Regions from separate parts of the Homo sapiens genome. Here region 1 is linked to region 2. Evidence: promoter capture Hi-C in 16 types of primary human blood cells and fetal thymus (Javierre and others, 2016). All regions are on one chromosome and are shown on one strand. Each heading gives the region's core, a stretch centred on a gene start or on the middle of the fragment in contact. The rest is flanking DNA. Distances are from core to core; before and after follow the strand shown. Region 1 overlaps SLC6A16 (solute carrier family 6 member 16). Region 2 holds the start of GYS1 (glycogen synthase 1).

Region 1 (3,389 bases), core at 698-3,197, 320 kb after region 2:
AAATCAATATAATTAGTCACATTGATATAATAAAGAAGAAAAATATTATCATCTCAAGAGATATAGGAAAAACATACAATACAATGATGATTTACGGAGAAAAACTTTTAGCAAACCAGGAATAATTTCCCTAACCTGATAAATGGTGTCTCTCAAAAAAAAAAGATTATACTTAATAGTGAACATATGCTTAAACATAGGCACATATTTAATAATGAAGTGAAGAAAGCTTGCCTTTTGAAATCAAGAACAATCAATGAAACCAGCTATCAGCACTTCCTTCCCATTGCATTAAATATTTTAGACAACACAGGAAAGCAAGGGGAATAAAAGACAAAGATTAAACAAAACTCACTATTCACAGATGATATATCTATGTGGAAGATCCAGAATACTACAGATAAATTATTTAAATTAATAAGATAATTTAGCAAGATTGTTGGATGCAAACAGCAATAAATGAAAATTATTTATATGTCTATGCTTGCAATACATAATTAGAAAATAAAATTTTAAAATAATAATGCCACTTATAAAATAATTTTTTAAATATAGAGTAAAATCCTGGGAAGGTAATGGCAATAACAGCAACATTGTTTTAAAATCTTCCCAAATACTCACATGAAAACAAGTAGTTCTACTAGATTGCAAGCCCAAAATCCATGGATAATATTTACAATATCAAGATAAACCCCAAAAGACAAGTCTATGAGAACAAACCACAAGAGCCACAGACCTGTATAGAATCAGCATCTGTGTGGGAGGAAACAAAGGAAGCAAGAGAGCATCTGACAGACCTGGGGATGGGGGACAGGGAAACCAGTCTCTCAAAATAATCAACAGGTACTCACCAGAAATCATGGGAAGGCTATTAGAGAACAGCAGCTAAAACTAGAAGATGTCTTGCCTAATCCAATAACAGTTGAGTGCATGGAGTCAACAATAGAAACTGAAGGGACCAGGGCAGACTAGATTCTATGAACTCTTAAAATTAACCAACCAGGGATCTTTTCCAACCCAGAGGCCACAATGAGGAGAAATTCCTGTGAGTAAAGCCAAATTGAGCAATACAAGAACAAGAATGATGAAGGATAGGCCAGACACAGTGGCTCATGCCTGTAATCCTAGTACTTTGGGAGGCCAAGGCAGGAGGATCACTTGAGGCCAGGAATTCAAGATAAGCCTTGACAATGCAGTGAAAACCCATCTCTACCAAAAAAAAAAAAAAAAAATTAAAATTAAAATTAGCCAGGCATAGTGGGACACGCCAGTGGTCCCAGCTATTTGGGAGGCTAAGTGGAGAGGATCGCTTGAGCCCAGGAGTTCAAGGTTGCAGTGGGCTATGATCACACCACTGAACTCCAGCCTGAGCAACAGAGTGGGACCTCATTCTCTAAAAAAATAAAATAAAATAGGCCAGGTGCAGTGGTTCATGCCCGTAATCCCAGCACTTTGAGAAGCCAAGGCAGGAGGATCACTTGAAGTCAGGAGTTTAAGACAAGCCTGGCCAATATGGTGAAACCCCATCTCTACCAAAAAATACAAAAATTAGCCAGGCATGGTGGGACACACCTGTAGCCCCAGCTACTCGGAAGGCTGAGGTGAGATAATTACTTGAATCCAGGAGGGGGAGGTTGCAGTGAGCCAAGATTGCACCACTGCACTCCAGCTTGGGCAACAGAGTAAGACCCTATCTCAAAAATAATAACAATAATAATAAAATAAAATTAATTAATTAAAAGATAATTTTAAGAAAACATAGAAATGAAGGATATACAGGATCCAGATAAAAATGGGGAGAAGAAATTTCCACTTTTGACCATGAAAGCAAAACAGTGTCTGGAGTTACCTCCACAAAAACACTACAAAACTGTACAAATAGGCCAGGCGCCGTGGCTCACGCCTGTAATCCTAGCACTTTAGGAGGCCGAGGCGGGCGGACCACGAGGTCAGGAGATCAAGACCATCCTGGCTAACATGGTGAAACCCCATCTCTACTAAAAATACAAAAAATTAGCCGGGCATGGTGGCGGGCGCCTGTAGTCCCAGCTACTCGGGAGGCTGTGGCAGGAGAATGGCGTGAACCCAGGAGGTGGGGCTTGCAGTGAGCAGAGATCGCACCACTGCACTCCAGCCAGGGCAACACAGCGAGACTCCGTCTCAAAAAAAAAAAACTGTACAAATAATTAAAACAACTATTTTCACATATTAAACAAAGGCAGTACAGCATTGCAATCTCTAAAAAAAGGCCAGAAAACAAGGTAACTAATTGCACGATTGCCCCATTTTTCTGCTAATTTCCAAACTTTGGCACAGGAGGAAGAATACAAACAGAGCCTGGCAGTCTCAGCACTTGAGGAGGCAAAAGTCAGTTCAGGAAGGCTTAGGTGACTAGAATTAGCTGGGCTAAGTACTCAACAGAAGGGAGCCACAGAGAAAGAGCTCTAGGAATCTGGATAAAGTACCTTCGAGCCATTAGCTAAATATCAACCTGCACATGTATAGTATGAAACCTCATAAGAACAGGCAAAGAATAAATTCCAAGGAAAGAAAAGTACTGGGGAACTACAGGTAAAACAATTCCTAGAACTTGGAGAAGAACAAGAATTACTCAAGTTTCCATCAGCCAGTGTGGAGAGACTTTACTGAATACTTGGAACATTTAAAGTGGCATAAACTAGCTCTAGTTCTAGTAGTAGGACTACTTTAGACCTGAAAAAAAAAAATTCTTAAAAGCAACCCTTAAACAGCCAAAACTGATCTTCAAGTAACTTAACTGCCTGTCACAACAAAGGCCAACATTCCTTAAGATAATACAGACAAACCTAGCACTGAACAACAAAAAATTCATAATGTCAACCATCTAGTCAAAAATTACTAGACATGCAAAAAAGCAGGAAAAGTGACCCATAATCAGACAACAAAAACAGAAATGATAGACTAATGGAATTAACACACCATAACACTAAAATAGCTGTTACAAATATGCTTAATATGGTCAAGGACTTAAAAGGAAAACATGAACAGAATGAGGAATATAAGATAGCTAGATAGCTAGCTAGCTAGACAGACAGATAGATATTTTCTCTTTTGAGACAGAGTCTCACTCTGTTGCCCACACTGATCTCAGCTCACTGCAGCCTCTGCCTCCAAGTTTCAAGCAATTCTCCTTCCTCAGCCTCCCAAGTAGCTGGAATTACAGGTGTGCACCACCACAACTGGCTATTTTTTTTTTTTTTTTTTTTTTTTAGTAGAGACAGGGTTTTGCCATGTTGGCCAGGCTGGTCTCGAACTCCTGATCTCATGTGATCCAGCTACCATGGCCTCCCAAAGTGCTGGGATTACAGGCATGAGCCTCCATGCCTAGCCATGATATATTTTAAACATCA
Region 2 (3,255 bases), core at 618-3,117:
TCACCTTCGCCTTCGTCTGCAGCACCGTGTAGATGCCACCCACTGTGGGCCCAAGCGTGTGAGGGCAGGCCCCGGCCGAGGTCCATAGTTCTGGGGCCTGGGGTGGGGTGGGCCGGGGATGTAGGGGGCACTCAGGCCCCAGACCTCTAGCTCAGGGGGAAGAGGGGACTGGGAGCCCATAGTTTGGAGTAGGGGTTGGAAGCTTGGATGAGGGGAACACGAGGGCTGGAGGGCAGTCCTCCTGGGTCTAAGGGAGAAGGGGGCTGGGGTCAGGACCCTGAAGGAGGAGGGGGCTCAGGCTAGACTTCTGGGTCTGAGAGAGAAGGGGCTGGGTGCCGGGACCCCTTGGTCTGAAGGAATTAGGCACTGGGGCTCTAAGGATGGCAGAGCTGAGGACTGACTACCCGGACTCAGGTTCCCGAGTTCCCAGCTCACAGGAGCTGGGTTTAAATCGCAGCCAGGCTCCAAAACCCAGTGAGGGAGACCCCCTCATGGCCAATCCAGCTTCTCACCATTGCCCAAGAGAAGCCTGCATGGTCATTCCCTGCCCCCAGGGACCTTGCTGACCTGCCTCCCAATTTCCTCTCCCTGACTAGGGACACCAGCATGCAGGGCTCTGCCTCTCCCATGACCCTATCCCAGACCCAGGAGCCCCAGCCCCCAGCCTCCTCCCATCCTGGAGCCCAGGCCCTGGCGATACCCGGCTGGGTGTTCACGGGCCCCCTCTCCTCCTGGGAGACACAGTCCCTTTCTCCTCCAAGACCCAGCAAAGCAACCCCCCAGACCCTGCTCTTTGAGGTGTGAGATTGGCTTGTTCCTGGGGATTTCAGCCCCAGCCTTCTCCAAGGCCAGAACCTCAGCTTTCTGAAGCCCAAGACACAGAAATGCAGGCTCCTAGCCCCTCCCATCCTAGGGCCCAGCCTCTGACTAACTTAGGACTTCCCAGCCTTCCCCTATTCCAGTACGCATGTGTCCCAGGCCATGGGCTCCTCTACTCCTAGGAACTAATAGCTCAGGCCCTCAGCTCCTTCAAAGCCCAGGCATTCATTACAGTCTCCAGCCCGTCCCATCTTTATTCTTAAGCAGCCAGATCCTCAGGTCCTCCCACCGCCGCTCAGGCCTCCTATCTCCCAGTCAGCTCTCTCTCAAATCTGGAGTTTTATCCCCTAGACCATGCTGTTAGGGTCATAGGTCTGAAACCCCGGCAGCTTCCCAGGTTTGCACGCAGAAATCCCATCCCCCCATCCCCTTCCCTGTTCAGGACCCAGGTATCTAGTCTCTCGGAAGCCTGCCTCCAGGACCTAGGAGTCTCATTTTAGCGCCCTCTTCCCTAGGACCCAGAACCCGGGCTTCCAGCCTCCTTTCATCTTAAGTCAAACGAACCATCCCTCTCCCACCCACCTCCGGCTTCCCAGCCCCTCCTCAAGGACACAGCCTCCTTGCCCAGGTCACAAGGGTTCCCCTAGTAGCCCCGTCCTCCTACAACTCAGAGTTCCGGGCCCCCATCCACTACTGTCCTTCTCGTCAAGGGCCCCGACGCCTGGCGTGCTCACCCTTGTTAGCCACCTCCCAGGCCACTTCGAAGAGCACTGCGTTCTCCAGGTCGAATTCATCCTCCCAGTCCTCCAGTCCTGGCAGTGAGGACATGGACAAAGTGCGGTTTAAAGGCATGGCTGGCGCAGGAAGGGGGGCTCCGGGGATCTCCAGGTAGGGACCCCGGAGGTGTCTAGGGAATGCACCAGGTAGGGTGCGGGGCCGAGTAGCTGGTGCCCGACGGGAAGCTTGCAAGACGCTCGGCTTCCTATTGCAAGACCGCACCCCTGCCCCGAAGCGTTGGGACCTAGGCAGAAGGAGGCCGCAGCGTCACTGAGCCCACTGGCGCCCCTGCAGTGAAACCTCGCAGCCGCCAGGAGGCGGTGGCCGCCCCCCCCAGCCAGCGCCATTGGCCCACGCCCGGGGGCGGGGATTTCCGCGTGTCCTCATTGGTGGAACGGGTTGGAGTCGCTGTGTCCCGGCCCCGCCTCGGCCGTGAGACCTCCAGGGGGCGGAGCTTGCCGCTGCGCTTTACGGAAACGAGTGGCCTTCAGCTCTGTCAATCTGGAGCTGGAGGCCTCAAAGTGGGGAGGAGGAGGAGGGTGGGATAAAGAGGAAAGGAGCGTGGAGGACGTGTGGTTACTCAAAGAACAGCTAAGAATTTTGCAATCGGCCTGAGCGGGGCGGTGGTGGGGCTGAGCAAAAGGAGGAGGAGCCAGGAGACATTGGGAATGGACCCAGGAGTTCCGGACGCCCGTCTTCCAGCGCAGCCTCGGTGGGAGGGCGGGGCATAAAGTCCCGCCACGCCCCCACAATATTTACATATTTATGAGGAACCATCGAGATCTTTGAAGAACCAGCTAGCCTAGAGGAGCCAGAACATCTCGCTCCTCGCGCGTTTCCGTTTCCGCTAGGACTCTGGCAGTTGGTGAGCATCATGGCAACCGTTGTAAGTGTGGGTGCATGGAGGGTGAGGAGCGAGCTAGCAGTCTCGAGTTTGAGAGAGGAGGATGCTGGAGGCCCTGACTCCTGGGTCTGAGGGAGGGGGGATCTGGGGGTTCAGACTCCTGGGTCTGAAAGAGGAGGAAGCTCGGCCACCCAGATCTGGGGGAGAAGGGGACATGGGGGCTGGACTTCTGGATCTGAGGCGGGGAGGGGGCTGGGATCCCAGAATCTCGGGTCTGGCCCCATCATGCTATAGGAACTCCAACTTTCAAAATCATCTTGGCGCAACGGCCGGTTCCGCAGTCCTTGGCGCCAGTGTGTGATGAGGAGGGTTGTAGGACCTTGCGCTTCGAGCCATTTGGGAGCCTTGGATTGTTAGTGGTGCCAATGGCACTTGAGTTCCAAGCTGGAAGCACAGGCAGGTACCTGTTCAGTGTGTCTGAGAGCGCGAGGGCGCCTAGTGAGCCTTTAGTGGGAAGAAATTGTCGAGGAACAAGAGAGTCTTAGTGGAGAGGACTGAAGGATTAGGGACCCAGAAATCGGGATCTTGTCATGCTACCGTTTTGGCCATTTTCATATTTCCAGTATTTCACACGGGCTACGTCTCAGTGTAAATGCTCAATAAATTATCACTTGAATATTTGAATGAATGAATACATGTGAATGAAGGAGAGGCCAGGAAACTTGGCCTGGCACCTGCTCAATTACCTGAATAAAGAAGCGATTTTGGCCTGGCGTGGTGGCTCATGCCTGTAATCCCAGCACTTTGGGAGGCCG

Evidence for each region. The method cuts DNA at HindIII sites, captures the fragments that hold promoters and counts their contacts. A CHiCAGO score of 5 or more calls a contact.
Region 1: a fragment that was not itself captured here is called in contact with the fragment with the promoter of GYS1 in region 2 in 1 of 17 cell types (endothelial precursors); the score reaches 5.1 in endothelial precursors.

The regions. Positions count from the first base shown.
Region 1 is chr19:49,315,644-49,319,032 of GRCh38, forward strand. The region is part of intron 1 of SLC6A16 (solute carrier family 6 member 16); the gene reads right to left. Among named protein-coding and RNA genes, the nearest start is that of SLC6A16, 7.9 kb to the right of the region's middle. The HindIII fragment of the contact is 3,441 bases long and covers 228-3,389 here.
Region 2 is chr19:48,991,442-48,994,696 of GRCh38, forward strand. It overlaps GYS1 (glycogen synthase 1), which reads right to left and starts at 1,868. Exons shown (of 16, transcript NM_002103.5): 1 at 1,554-1,868; 2 at 1-42. The coding sequence starts at 1,671. RUVBL2 (RuvB like AAA ATPase 2) reads left to right here and starts at 2,446. Exons shown (of 15, transcript NM_006666.3): 1 at 2,446-2,482. The coding sequence starts at 2,471. RefSeq lists enhancers at 1,425-1,564, 2,255-2,344 and a silencer at 1,775-2,134. The HindIII fragment of the contact is 2,230 bases long and covers 1,780-3,255 here.